5 separate regions of the Homo sapiens genome follow, and all the other regions are linked to region 3. Evidence: promoter capture Hi-C in human tissues and cell types (Jung and others, 2019). All regions are on one chromosome and are shown on one strand. The core of a region is centred on a gene start or on the middle of the fragment in contact, and the rest is flanking DNA. Distances in the headings are between cores, read along the strand shown.

Region 1 (2,700 bases), core at 52-2,551, 290 kb before region 3:
GGGCAGACATTCCCCCATCATTTTCACAAAACTGAACCATTTCTGAAGGTTTCAGATTAAAATAAGAAATCCCCTAGGAGTCATAAAGATCAGCTATTTTTACAGGAATAATTTGGAATTGCAATTTTAAAGTGTTATGAGTTGGAAGGAATTGGTGAACTTCTGTGTCATATTTTGAAAAGCTAATATTCTAGGTAATCGGCCAGTTGAGAACACCAAAAATTGCACAGAGAGAGGCTATGAGGAAAGGGGAAAAAGAATTTCTCAAGGATAAGCACGAGGGCTGATTTACACAGTTCTCCTCATAACAACCCAACAGGGGCAGTTATGCAATAGACCACTATTGCTCCTTCGATTTTCCTTCACTCATAATGGGGCATAAATGTCACCTTCCTATAACACTTTTGTGTCCCCTCCTTGCAGCTTGACAACGCTGATTCTACCACTGGACTCTCTACAGAGGAATAATGGACTATTAAGAAGGATAATGCAGAGGGTCTGTATAGCGTTTACCTACTGGAGAACACAGAAACCATCACAAGCATTTCATTAAATCAGTAAGTAAGCATGAGTGTGAAGAAGGTAGGTTGAAAACCCTTTTCTACCACCAATTTTTACATATGGAGACAGGATGTGGGCTCCAGTGCCAAGAACAGTCTATTCATTTATCAACTCCTGGAAATCAATTTCTTTTCCTGCTCATCCTTTTTGGGAACCAGTCAGGATGTAAATATAAAAATATTGCTATTGATTTACCAAATGCTCAGTGAGGTTCTTTTATGTATTCTAAGCTAGGTGCTGTGGGGGGAGAAAAGTACAAATGAGACGTGATTTCTCTCATAAGGTAATATGCAAACCCAATGAAGAAATAGTCACTTTAACATCATGACATTCACTGAGGGCTCTATGTGGTATGCTTATCACAAATACAAAAACCTATAACACATGAACAGTACATGCCATGATGATAGAAAGAAAGGTTATTTCTTATTAGAGAGATAATGGAGAAGATGAATTTAAGCTTTTTATTGTTTTTCTTATTCTATAACTTTTTAATCAACTTATTTAAGATATAACTTGCATATGATAAATGCCATTTCAGTGTACAGTTTGTTGAGTTTTGACAGATAATCCACCTGCATAACCACCATAACGATCAAGATACAGAACTCTTTCATCATCCCCCAAATTCCATTTGTACCTCTTTGCAGCCACCTCCACACACACCCCCAGCAACCAGGCATCTGTCATTACAGATGAATTTGGCATTTTCTAGAATCTTCCATTAATTGAATCGCACAATGTATACTCTTTTTCCCTAATTTTTTTTTTTTTTTTTTTTGCATTTTGCTTTGCAGAATGACAACATTTAGACATGAGGGAGAAATAGCATTCAAGTATGAACAAATATTTGGGGACAGGTAAGTAAAGGGTGAATTCAAGCAATTAACGGGGACATGTAATCTTGACCAAAGTGGAGACACTGGGGAAGGTATCATGTAGAACAGTGCAGGACAGGCAACATCACCTATGTGTTACGTAGAGCTTCACAATTTTTACATCAATTTGCATGCTACTCTTCTACTGCTTTACTATATTTTGGCCACATTGAGGCTTTTGCACCTGCTGTTGCTTTTGACTGGAGCACTCACTCCCCAGGATTGTACAGGAGCTGAATTCTTCTCCTCCATTAGTGTCTATCACAGCATGCTGTTAATGTCCTTCATTGCAGTGGGCATAATTTGTGGATTATTTTATTTGTTTATATGATTATTATATTTTACCCTAAGAGGCTGTAAGTGCCAAGATCATAGAGAACAGAATGGTTTTGTTTGTAACTATATCATCTTACCACACATTCTGGCTCATACTAGCCATTGAATGAACGAGTCAATAAGTAAGTGAATGAATGAGCAAATTCCTAACAAATTAAAAGCCTTTCATTTGGTCACATATATAACTTCAGGCATTATAATTCTCATAACTCTCTGATACACAATTCCTTGCCTCTCTTATTATAAAATACTTTTATATTATAATTTAAGGAGCATCATAGAATCTTTTAAATTTGCAACTCCAACCCTACAATCATGACATTGGCCTGACTGTATTTTTGTGCTCTTTGGCACAAAAGGGCAAAACATTTATCTTCAAGAGAGACCTGGAAGATGTTGGACATAAAAGTTTAAAACTAAAAAGAAAACAATTTTTTTCATAAAGAACTACCTTTTCTAAATTGTCAAATATGCATTGAAAACAAGGATATCTAGTGTTTTGGTGTTAATACTTTGGCTGTTTTTGAGGAACTAGAGATTTATGCTATAGGATTTTAAGGTGAGGTTAGCACAGTGTGGTTTTCAGATCAATAAAGGACTTTGTGTCAAGGACCTCCTGGTTGCTTGCCTAGTTTATTGTGACTTAACAAAAGAGCCCAGGAACAGTATTGCTCAGCAGAAGGAAAACAAAAATAGGTGAGCTCATAGCTCATCTTGAAGAGACAAAAAATACCAAGATCAAGGGTGCTCACAAAGAAGTCCTGTTTAGAGAATGCCAGAATTCCATAGTGAAATCACTGTTTTCAAGTCCTGCCCTTAAAAACATGACCTTGGAAATGTTTTCAAACACACAAAAATTCACAAACAGTGTCACAAGCCAGAAGTTTTTTCTTTATGGTGCATTTATAACACATTAATAACTCAT
Region 2 (2,700 bases), core at 118-2,617, 400 kb before region 3:
ATCACATCCAGAGCAAGAGAGAATAGAATGGGACCCAAGTTAATGTATCTTAACCCAGCACTTCTGTTAGGCAAAACATCACTCAAATGCAAGTATAAAAACATGTTTGTCTGAGCTTGATTAGAACATCACTGATCTTATTTATTTTTTTCCTCAGGCCACATAGGCATTAATGCTGACTTGGCAAACCGTGGCTGATAAACGACTGTTCTGTCAAATCGACACTGGGGATTTCAGAGTCTAAATGATGGATACTGTGAGGCACAAAGTATTCAAGGCTTGAGCCTTTGTAAAACAAGTGCAAAGAGCTCAGTGAAAACCTATTATCACTGGCAGAATGGAAGAGGCAACACAAAGGTATTTTATCAGCGGTGGCCATCATCAAATTCACATGAAATATGTTCCAATTCTAAATCACACTTCTCCCCAGTTTAGCAATTTAAGGGCAGCTAGACAGGCATGCTAAAACAAGGGAATTTTAAACAAGCAGAATTAAGATCAGAATATTTAGCCTATTTTATTAATGCTGATGGGGTGAGTCAATATGTTTTAGCAGTAATTTATAACACTATGTATAATATATATATATATATATACAGTCAAGTAGTATAAATTATTGCTAAAGCATATTAACTCACCCATTGTGTATATATACAGTCAATTGTTATCTATCCTCTAGACTGGCTTGGGAAACTAAAATTCCAAAGGAGTAGGATGATATAATACGGCTAATGAGAGTAAGTGAGCACACTGCAGTATCAAGGGTTCACTGCTTGGCCTGTGATTCCATACTTTTTAATTTCCTTGTACAAACAGGGAACTGAAAAAAAGGAAAATCCATTTGGCTGGTATGAGCTACAAATTAAATGCTTGATTAAATTTTGGCAATTACATCTCCAGGTCGTTTCCATTTAAACATTTTAAATTCATTTTAATAAGCTTCTTAATCATGATCTTGGCAATCTATTGTATGGCAAAAGTGACTCTAATAAATGCTATTAAGAGATTGGCTCAAAAATAGAAAAATCGACGGATAATGCAAAACCCCATTTTACTCTGCTTTTTGGTTGTTTGCACATGGGTATATGTTGAGTCGAAAAATAAATACAAGAAGCTCATATATATTCTTCACAAGTAAAGAGTAATCAATATCAGTGGTTTTTCAAACTTTATCATGCATAAAACTCATCTGGAGAGCATATGGAAACACAGAATGCTGGGACTCCATTTGCAGAGACACTAATTTAGCAGGTCTAGGTGGTGCCCATGAATTTTCATTTCTGACAAGCTCCCAGGTGATTCTGAAGCTGTGATTCTAGGACTATCTGGAGCAGTGCTTGCTCAAACCATTTTGATGTAGCCACCATACTAAATGGTTGTCAGGAAGTTTGGGAAATAATGTAAGATACCTGTAAATTATTTGTTCAGCTTTTAAAGTGTGCCGAAAGGTGATTATATCATCTCAGTCAATAGCCAGTCAGTGGCTAGTAGCTCCTACTGAGGGTTGGATCTCAATAAAATGGAGGGGTAGATGGGCCCCTGGACTCCATATGTTGAATCTTTCCCCTCTACCTGATATAAACTTCTTCCCCCTTCAAGAATCCAGTATCCCGTAGCCTTCTCCAGTAACTCATTCTCTCAAATTTTTAATTGTTATACTATCTCTTTCTTGGGTGACTGCCTCCTCATGGGTGACAAAATATTTTTTGTCAAACCATAAAATTTGTATATGGAAATTATGGCATCAATCCCTGAGATCACAAGTGGGTGACTCTTCCTTACAAAGATGTCCGACCCTGTTTTCACTCTCTGGAGATTACTACTGATGCAACTAAAGCCAGTTTTCATTTGCCCTATAATTATTGGAGACAAAGAATCTTGGTTGGTTATTAATCTCCATTGTATCACAAGTAATGGAATATTAAATCTTCTTTCAGACTTTTCTCCTCAAAGAAAAATACCATCAGTTTTTCTTTACTGTTTGGTGTAAGAACTACTTCCTAACCCCTAATAATATATATATAAATCTCCTCTGAATTATTTTCAATTATTTTCAAATTTTCAAAGGTAAATACTTGAAAGCAAAACTCCTATTTAACATATATTTTGAAATCCCTTCTCTTCTTATCTCCCACCATCCCCAAGTCACTAGAATATTTTATATCAACCAAGGTTTCAATGAATCATGTATTAACAGGAATTGACAAATGGGGCAGAGAACTTGAGCACAGGCCTAACCAGAGCTGAGCATGATGGAAGGACTGGTTCCTAGTTCCTTAATGTAGTAACCTTACTTTCTTTAGCCCCATAGTTCATTTTAAATAAATAATCGCTAGCATTCTGATTTATACTTCTCATGTAACTTACTCATGATTTCATGCAGGTTCTTTATTTAATTCTCACAAAAACTTTGTAAAGAAACTGAGGCTCAGAGTATTTGGTGATTTAACCAAGGCCACAGAGCTGGTATGTGACAGAATCCTAGTTAAAATTCAGCTTGTCTGACTCACATTCTGGTGCTTTTTCTATTACATTACACTAACCCCAAGAGTGTAACAACTCTTATTAGGTTATCCTTCATTATATCTAATTTTCAGGAAAATAGTCCTAGACTGCCTGTGGAAAAAAGGGCCTATTTTCCAGAAAACCCAATAAAAAGAAGAAAAGGACAAAAAATTTCAGAATCTGAGGCTGTCTACA
Region 3 (2,700 bases), core at 30-2,529:
AAAGCAGTCTGTAGCATGCTGATCATCCTCAACATAAAATAAAATAGGCAAGGCAAATTAAAAATAAAAATAAACTCTCAGAGACTCTGGTAGGAGCCCTATACCTTCTCACACCCTTCTTTCATTCTATACCCTGCGATTAAAAGTTTGAGTTACCCCCACCGTTGCACGTCCTATCCAGTGGGAAAAACCCTTTTAGAGCCACAATCAAAGAACAGCTCACCAGAAAAGCCCCTGAAATTATATTCTTGTGCCTGGTAATCACTGTTGTGATCTGCTTTCTAAAAACCGTGCCCATCTGCAAAAGACGTTCCTGATATCAGGACCATTTATGCTGCCAAATAACAACAAAGAAACTGAACTCAAGTGAAACTATTATCTCTCCTTAAAGAGAAAGCTACAATTCCGGGTTTGCTGCTTTCTTCTTATGTCTTCCTCTGCCTCATTAACTCCATTGGTATGTCACTAATTTCAAAGAAGCAGGAAGAAGTGATGGGGGTGGGGGTTAACTAATAATTCACACGCCTGTCTGTTTCCCATCCCAAGTGCAGAACGATACCACGCTGATCGCCAGACCGTGGGTCAAGCCATACCTTGGTTTGGAGATAATGAGGATAGTAGTAAGTGTACTGGGGGTACATTTGTGGCTGATCCAGGCGTTTGCCCATGTAGCTGGAATCTTTATCTCCGAGGCAGGGAACTGGATGACAGGGTATAGTGCCCCAGGCCGAGCTTCCTCTTAAACCACTATTCCTGACAGTCCCGGTGACTGATGAGGCTTCAGAGACTCCACCACTCGCTAGTTCCAACACAGCAAGAATTTTTTTAAAAAACAAAACAAAACAAAAAACACACACCAAAGGAAAAAAAAAAAGGGCGAGGAGTGAGATCTGTAGAAAAAACACCCACACACAGCCTTCCCAGATCTTGCCTGGCTTCCCCCAGCTGCCGGGGTCCACTTGGGATGAGGCAGTTTGTTCTCTAACCAGGCTGTCTGTAGTGATGTCAATTGCCAGCGTTCGTAAAGGGGGAAAAAAATCAAAGTCCTTTTAGCACAACTCCGAATCCTTGCAGATCAGCTTCCTGTCTCTTGGTTGTCTCTTTCCCCACCTTAAAGAAAAAGAAAAAAGAGAGAGAGAAAGAGAAAGAAAGAAAGAAAAAGAAAGAAAGAAAGAAAAAGAAAGGGGAAAAAGAAAAAAAAAAAGAAAAAAAGGAAGAAAAAAAAAAAAAAAAAACCTTGTACAGCTTAGTTGCTGCTGTCTCCCTCCCAGAGTGACATGGTGTTCGGGGCTTGTCCTGTCCTTTCATTCACTTCCCCTCCTTCCAGCCGGTGGGTGGAACCGAGAGAGCCTCTCCAGGGAGCAGCGTACGCAGTCCAGAAGGCTGCAGTATTTCCTCCAAGAAAAAAAAAAAAAAAGGCTGCTTCAACCCCTGCTGCAAGCAAAGTTCCGATTCCCTCTGCTGGCTATCTCGAATAGCAAGCGATTTTTGCAGCAACGCTGCTGCCGCTGGAACTGAACCTGAAGAACTCAAATGCGGGCGGTGGATTATTTCTTATCCCTCCTCCATCTACCCCACACAAGAGCTGCTTTTTGTTCCTCTTTTTGCCAAGTTCCAAGGTAAGCCACACTGCTAAACAAAACACAGAAGAGAGGGAAGAGAGGACGAAAGAAGGAAGGAGGAGAAAGGAAAAGAAATAAAGGCAGGGGAACTAACCTTGCTGGTTAAAGGGGAAAAAAGTAAGTCCCGGATGCTTTCAAAATCTGTTAACACGCTAGAGCCAGACGCATCCAAGAGCTGATTGAGAAACTAACCTTTTACTACCTGGAAAACTTGGTGGATGTTAAGTATTGAAGAAATTTTAGGGTCTACTCCAGGACTACTATTAATGCCACATGTCATCAGATTGGACTGATCAACTGAACATATCAAAAATAATAACTTTTTTAAAATACATCCATTTTGTAAAAAAAAAAAAAAAAAAAATCAAAGGAAGTGACCCCTTAGGTTCGTCAGATATTTTACAGATAAAATCTGTTTCTCCCATTGTCTCTCTCTTTATGATTATTTTGTTGCATTGATGCTTTAATCACTTTACTGATATCATCTAAAAAAAAAAGAACAAAAATCATAATTGCTTGGCAGAGTTTTTTCCCACCAATGATAATATTCTGTCATGTCTATCAGCTGCTACATTATAATACAAATTGTTTCAGATAAAATATATTTCCTTAAAGGGTCCCTTTTCAAGGCGGGCGAGGCTAAAATTAGATGTGCCAGCTGTGTTTTGCTGCGAGTGCTCACGCATGCCCAAAGCGTGGGCAGACCAATACTGAGCTCTTTTCTACTTTGTCAAGTCGGCTCTGTTCTCCTGAGCCCAGAGTCTCCTATTTAGATAAAAGGTCCCTGGTACAAATCCAGCTTCCTAGTCAAGAAGAACAGAGAATTTGGGCTCAGTGCACACATGGTGTCCATCCACATACAAGCCGCACCACCCCTAAAGCAACTGGCTTCCACCGAGGGGAACTGGTTTCTGGAAGCTGTGTGAGTGCATACGTGTTCCTTGGATAAAAATAAGGATGGCAGGTAAATAGTTTTATGTTTTACTTTTGACAAGAATAACAATCAGAAGGAAGGAAGGATGGAGGGTGAGAGGGTAAGAGTTAGGAGGCCCTGACAACATGGTGATTGAGAATATTA
Region 4 (2,700 bases), core at 183-2,682, 430 kb after region 3:
CAGTTGTTTATGAAAATCATGTTGGAGTTTGTAGGAAAATAATGTGTGCAGCAATGATAATTGTTGATTTACATAATACTTGGCTATGTAATATACATGTGCATTTGTGCAGACATAGTATAGAACTTGTTTATAATTTGAGGTGACTGGGCTCAAAATAAGTACATGTCAGCGTGTTTCTTCTCTGGCTTTTAATATTCAGTTTTGTGTATAATTGATACACTAAAATTTTTATGATGGCTAAAATAAGAGTAAATAAATTATGAGGATTTAAAATATCATCCATCTGCCAGGAATACTCAGTTTTTCTTTGAATGGATACTTAACAATTGCCATTCTTGAAGACACTTCTAGCAGATTAAAAATTTCTTTGGCTTCTTGTGCTCCCAAATTACTCAGGTCTAAACTAAGATTGGTAAAGAACCAAACTTCAAACATGACCACATATTTTATATCTATGCATAGCTTAAATTCATAGCATTTGGGCAGAAAAGCCAGCATAGCACCAAATGCTGAGCTTAGACTATACCTGTATACCGGGATAAAATGAGGGAATTCCAAAAGGAACCAAGAGAAGGTACTTTCTACTCTACAAGTAAGGCTTTGAGGTAAAAAGAAGATAATCACATGTGCCATAACTTCTGGGAATTCAAATATAAGCAGATTTGCTTACATAATTAAAATTCTGTGAAATTATATTTTGAACATGTATTCAAATACAAATGCTACATATGTATGTTTATAACATTATAAACTTGTAAAGTTCATATATAATATAAACTTAACTAATATCAATTGTATATTATTATATAGGTAATACCTTATAAATATATAGTATATATTTATATAATATATACAATATGTTATATATATGTGTATATGTATTACTTAGATTTATATATTATAAACACAAGGATATATTTACTTGTGTGTATAATACACAAGTACGTCAGTTTCCCCTTATTTGTGTCTTCACTCCCATCCCCACCCACTGTCAACCACAATCTGGAAATATTACATACAATAAGATATTTTGAGAGAGAGAGAGAGACCACATTCACATAATTTTTATTATAGTATATTGTTTTAACTTTTCTATTACTAATTATTGTTAATCTCTTACTGTGCCAAATTTACAAATTAAACTTCATCATAGGTATGTATGTATAGGAGAAAACAGTATATATATATATATGGTTTGGTATTATTTATGGTTTCAGGTATCCACTAGGGCTTTTGGAATGTATCCCCTGTGGATAAGGGGGACTACTATATTTATAATGCACTACATATATGTTATAGAACATATTACATATAAAATATAATATATATTACACATTATATATGCATAGTACATAATTATTATAATGTGAATGTTATCTAATGTTACATATTATTTATACTACATATTATATTGCCGCATATGTGTACATACAAAACCCCATGTAATATTTCAGAGATTTCTAAAGGTTATCTTAATTGTATGCAATTTCTACCTTCCATTAGGACACTAGAATATAACCCCTTTCATAAAAGATGATGCCATTGTTATCTGTTCTTCTCACAAGAGCACCTCACAAGCCTTCCTACTCCTGCAAACATGAACTTATCTCTAATATTGCACTCAGCAACTCGATGCTCTTTCAGATCTAAGACCAATTAATTTTCTTATTGATATTGGCTATTTTGGCCTTGTTCTGCTGACTATTTTAATTACAACTTTGTGGGATAATTATTGATGTCTCTATCATAAGTTGAAATGAAAGAAAGAGCAAGTTACCCAGGATGTGTGAAAAAGACAGTTAATGGTTAACGCTGGGACAAGCCTGCTTGATGGGCATGTGGGTACTGTAACCACTGAACCTCCCAGCCTCTCCATGTTTTCTGTGGTTTGATTAGCAAATATTATGAGGCACCAGATGATTCTTAAGATATCAGCACAATCCTTTTAAAAGGCCTCTGAAACCTCTTCTTCCCTCACATGCACATTAAATAAGCCAGCATTCACACCAACTTCCCCTCACAGACTGGCCATTATGAGCTACTGGTTCCATAGCACAGACACATGCCAGGGGAAAACCCCACATTCAGAAGGGTTGTTTTTTGTGATTAACTGGTAGAATCAAGAGGAGAAAAACATAACAGGGCGAGAGCCCGAGAAATGCATAGCCATTTTTCCCACATGAGCAAAATGCTCATAAAAACAAATGGTGCATAGAGCCAATAGGGCAAAATTCGGGCATGGGCTTGTCTTTATAATCACTTATAAAACTATGGGAGAAAAGGGAGGATGTCCAATGTGACATCCTAACATATTTTGCTGTATACTTCTTGGCTTTGTTAGTGAGCAGGCAGGAGTGGCCCTTTCTCAAGGAAAACCTCACGCTTCACGGCATGAACAGGGACATACATGACCAACAGTTGTGTTTGTGAAAGCACACATAGTTCTGGGCACATACAACTCCTTTAATCACCCAAAGGAAAACTATTCCAGTCTGGATAAGAGAAAAGTCCCACAGCTGTGCGTAGAAGGAAACAGCCAGGAGGTCTCCAGAAAGCACCAGCCCTATCTTTTAGCTTGCTGCTTCAGGATTTCCCATTGCTGTGCCAGGTCTGAGGTCCATGCAGAATGTTAGACTCAGAATACTGGAGCTAGAAATATCTGTAATGAGTATCTGTTGAGTGGCTTGCCTAGTTCCC
Region 5 (2,700 bases), core at 116-2,615, 340 kb before region 3:
ACTTTTATGGCACTTACTATTCACCTAAGATTCAGGTCCTCTCCTAGACAATGTTTTACATCATAGATGCTACCACTATATAGGACAATGACGTTCAACAAGCCAATTTTATTGTACATTTCATCTGATAGAAGATTATTTTACTGAATAATTCTCATGAGTATATTATGTAAGGCTGTCTCTCAAAATGTCTTCATGCATTTATTTTATAAACTATATTTAGATTCATATTATAAAAACTAATTGCCCATGCACACTCTCAACAACACAAGCTCAGAACAGAGCTTGTCCTCCAATCTGTATTCTGGTAATACACATAGATCTTCCAGGAATATCACATCACCCTATGTGCTTCTTTTTCTTCACGAAATTTTTTACAATGCAAAATTATATTATATTTATTTGGATATTTTTTCAGGCTCTGTCTTCACTTCCCCAGATGTAAGCCCTATAAGGGCAGGAACATTTTATGCCTTGTTTACTCTATAATCAATACCTACAGCACAGTTTCTAAATTATAATAAATATTTGTAGGAGGAATACATGAATATATTCATTGATTTTTTTTCCATGAAATTTTAGAGCTGGAAGAGTTTAGAGTTCACCGGATCCTTTAATTTTATAAATGAAGGCACTATGGTCTTATAAATGAAGAACACAGAAGCGAAATCTTATTTTTTATTTCATCCCTAGGACCTTGCCAGTGCCTGAAGTATAAGTTTTCCACAAGTATATGTAGATTCTCCTACAGCAAAAGCGAAGACTAGATTAGGCATCCCAAATTGAAGATTGGAGCTAATTCCATAAAGTGGGTTTTTTTCTTTTTTCTACAGGTATATGATATCTTTTCAGATTTCCTCTGTTACCTGAGAAACTTTTTTTTTCTTTCATCCTTTTTTTTCTGTTGTTTAAATGGCATTGTGCATACATTTTACTGCCACAACAAAGTAGCATGCTTGAACCAGGCATCTTTAATCTTAACCAAACCAAATATTTGTAGGCATTTTATTTTCATTCTAGAACTTGGTATTATGCTGTCAGGAGACTTCTGATAAGTTATAGGTTGTCCTTTCCAACTAATGGAAGTAAAACTATTCACTTTTATTGAAAGGTTTAATACAAAATACAATGAGGCTCTCTACAGATATAACAACCATCTTTTACATTCATTATTTGATCAACAACAGAGAGACAACTACAAATAATCTGCAGAGTCCCTGATAGTCAGGAGTCCCTTGTTCCAGCCCTATCTTGCACACAAATCACTGAGCATCTTTCTGAAGAGAAGACTGTTTCAATTTTCGAAAGTTCATCCTTTATAACTACATGAGTGCCTGCATTTACGTTTTCATTCCAGCCTTTACAATGTTTTCAGAGGGCATAAGAGTTTAAAGTTCTGCCCCATTATGTATTATATCAGTTGCATTTAAATACATAGAATTATTATGCTGTCTTTCACCCAATAAAAGCAAAAAAAAAAAAGAAGCAGACATTTGGAGCAAGAACACATGAATAAATAACCCCAGAAGACTCACCAAGATGAAAATTCAAGTTTCAGAGACCCTCTATTGGTTTAATTCTGACATGGGCCTGCATGTTCCAGCAGCCTTTATGAGCTATGGGTTTCCTAGGTATGACTTAAGGGCATGGAATAGAGCACTTCATTTAAAAACAAGAAATATTCTATTTCTTAGTCTTAATAGATATGTTCAGATATTAAAATAATTGGTATGCATATTTTATCACAATTAAAAACAATAATAAAGTAATTGGTTAATCACAGTATTTCAGTTATTAGTAAAACCGTAAAATTCAATTCCCTAAAAAGATAACGTTTTTAAAAAGACTAAACTAGTAAATTTAGATTGCTGAAAAAATTTCAAAATAGCCAGGGAATGAGTTCTAGGATGACTTATAAACAAACAACTCTAAGGAAAAAGTTAATTAGACACATTTTTTTTTCTCTGTAAGTGAAATTTCTTTAGAGGATGCCAAAGTTAACTTATGGAATTGGTGCAAAATAAAATTTTAGTTAAAACACACTTTTAAATGCCAATATGAAAATCAAGTACATAAAGATAATATAAATATTATTCTAATTGATTTTTTAAAACATTTACACAGTAAGTGGACCACCTCAATTAAAGAACAGTGACCCATGTCATAAGAGTTTTATCGTAATTGTAGCCCCTAAGATTCTCTTAGTCATGATTTAAAGTTACTGGCGACTTCAATGAGAAGTGAGATATAAGCTTAAACTTCAATATATGAAAGAGAAATCAGGGGCTAAAGTGAAGACTCAAAAATTGTGCAAACAAGTCATTGAAAAGTAGCCAATTACATAGAATATGCAACCTGGAATGTATAAAAAAATTTGTTGTAACATCCTAGAATTGTAAGTGGCACATACAAATATGTCAATAAAAATAAGGATGGCATGTTAATCTAAGCATTAAAGGATCCAATCCAAAATATAAAAGTTCATGCTAGCCAAGAAAAAAATTATTAAATTTATTCTTGCCTTTAATATCTCCAAAATTTTCCATTTGTTTTCTGGAACTGTAAGCTATCCTCACCATTATTCACCCTTATTTTAACTTACAGAAATATTTTCTCAGGATTCAAAGCATTTTTAAGCTTTTTCTCCTGCTCCCCGATTTTTATTCTCTAAGATCAAGGGTTTACAAGCTTTCAATAAAT

The links. Contacts are between HindIII fragments. The study calls those that stand out against the background at their distance.
Region 1: a fragment that was not itself captured here is called in contact with the fragment with the promoter of RBMS3 in region 3 in 1 of the 25 tissues and cell types used here (dorsolateral prefrontal cortex).
Region 2: a contact is called between a fragment that was not itself captured here and the fragment with the promoter of RBMS3 in region 3, in 1 of the 25 tissues and cell types used here (dorsolateral prefrontal cortex).
Region 4: a fragment that was not itself captured here is called in contact with the fragment with the promoter of RBMS3 in region 3 in 1 of the 25 tissues and cell types used here (dorsolateral prefrontal cortex).
Region 5: a contact is called between a fragment that was not itself captured here and the fragment with the promoter of RBMS3 in region 3, in 1 of the 25 tissues and cell types used here (dorsolateral prefrontal cortex).

What each region holds. Positions count from the first base shown.
Region 1 is chr3:29,565,277-29,567,976 of GRCh38, reverse strand. All of the region lies in intron 3 of RBMS3 (RNA binding motif single stranded interacting protein 3), which reads right to left. Among named protein-coding and RNA genes, the nearest start is that of RBMS3-AS2, 76 kb to the left of the region's middle. The HindIII fragment of the contact is 4,920 bases long and covers 1-2,700 here.
Region 2 is chr3:29,677,665-29,680,364 of GRCh38, reverse strand. All of the region lies in intron 4 of RBMS3 (RNA binding motif single stranded interacting protein 3), which reads right to left. Among named protein-coding and RNA genes, the nearest start is that of RBMS3-AS2, 36 kb to the right of the region's middle. The HindIII fragment of the contact is 4,527 bases long and covers 1-2,700 here.
Region 3 is chr3:29,279,650-29,282,349 of GRCh38, reverse strand. RBMS3 (RNA binding motif single stranded interacting protein 3) reads right to left here and starts at 1,279. Exons shown (of 15, transcript NM_001003793.3): 1 at 594-1,279. The coding sequence starts at 668. It overlaps RBMS3-AS3 (RBMS3 antisense RNA 3), which reads left to right and starts at 1,411. Exons shown (of 3, transcript NR_109804.1): 1 at 1,411-1,619. RefSeq lists an enhancer at 2,375-2,424. The HindIII fragment of the contact is 9,133 bases long and covers 1-2,700 here.
Region 4 is chr3:28,850,344-28,853,043 of GRCh38, reverse strand. No RefSeq gene overlaps it. Among named protein-coding and RNA genes, the nearest start is that of LINC00693, 280 kb to the right of the region's middle. The HindIII fragment of the contact is 5,508 bases long and covers 1-2,700 here.
Region 5 is chr3:29,619,970-29,622,669 of GRCh38, reverse strand. The region is part of intron 4 of RBMS3 (RNA binding motif single stranded interacting protein 3); the gene reads right to left. All of the region lies in intron 2 of RBMS3-AS2 (RBMS3 antisense RNA 2), which reads left to right. Among named protein-coding and RNA genes, the nearest start is that of RBMS3-AS2, 21 kb to the left of the region's middle. The HindIII fragment of the contact is 3,202 bases long and covers 1-2,700 here.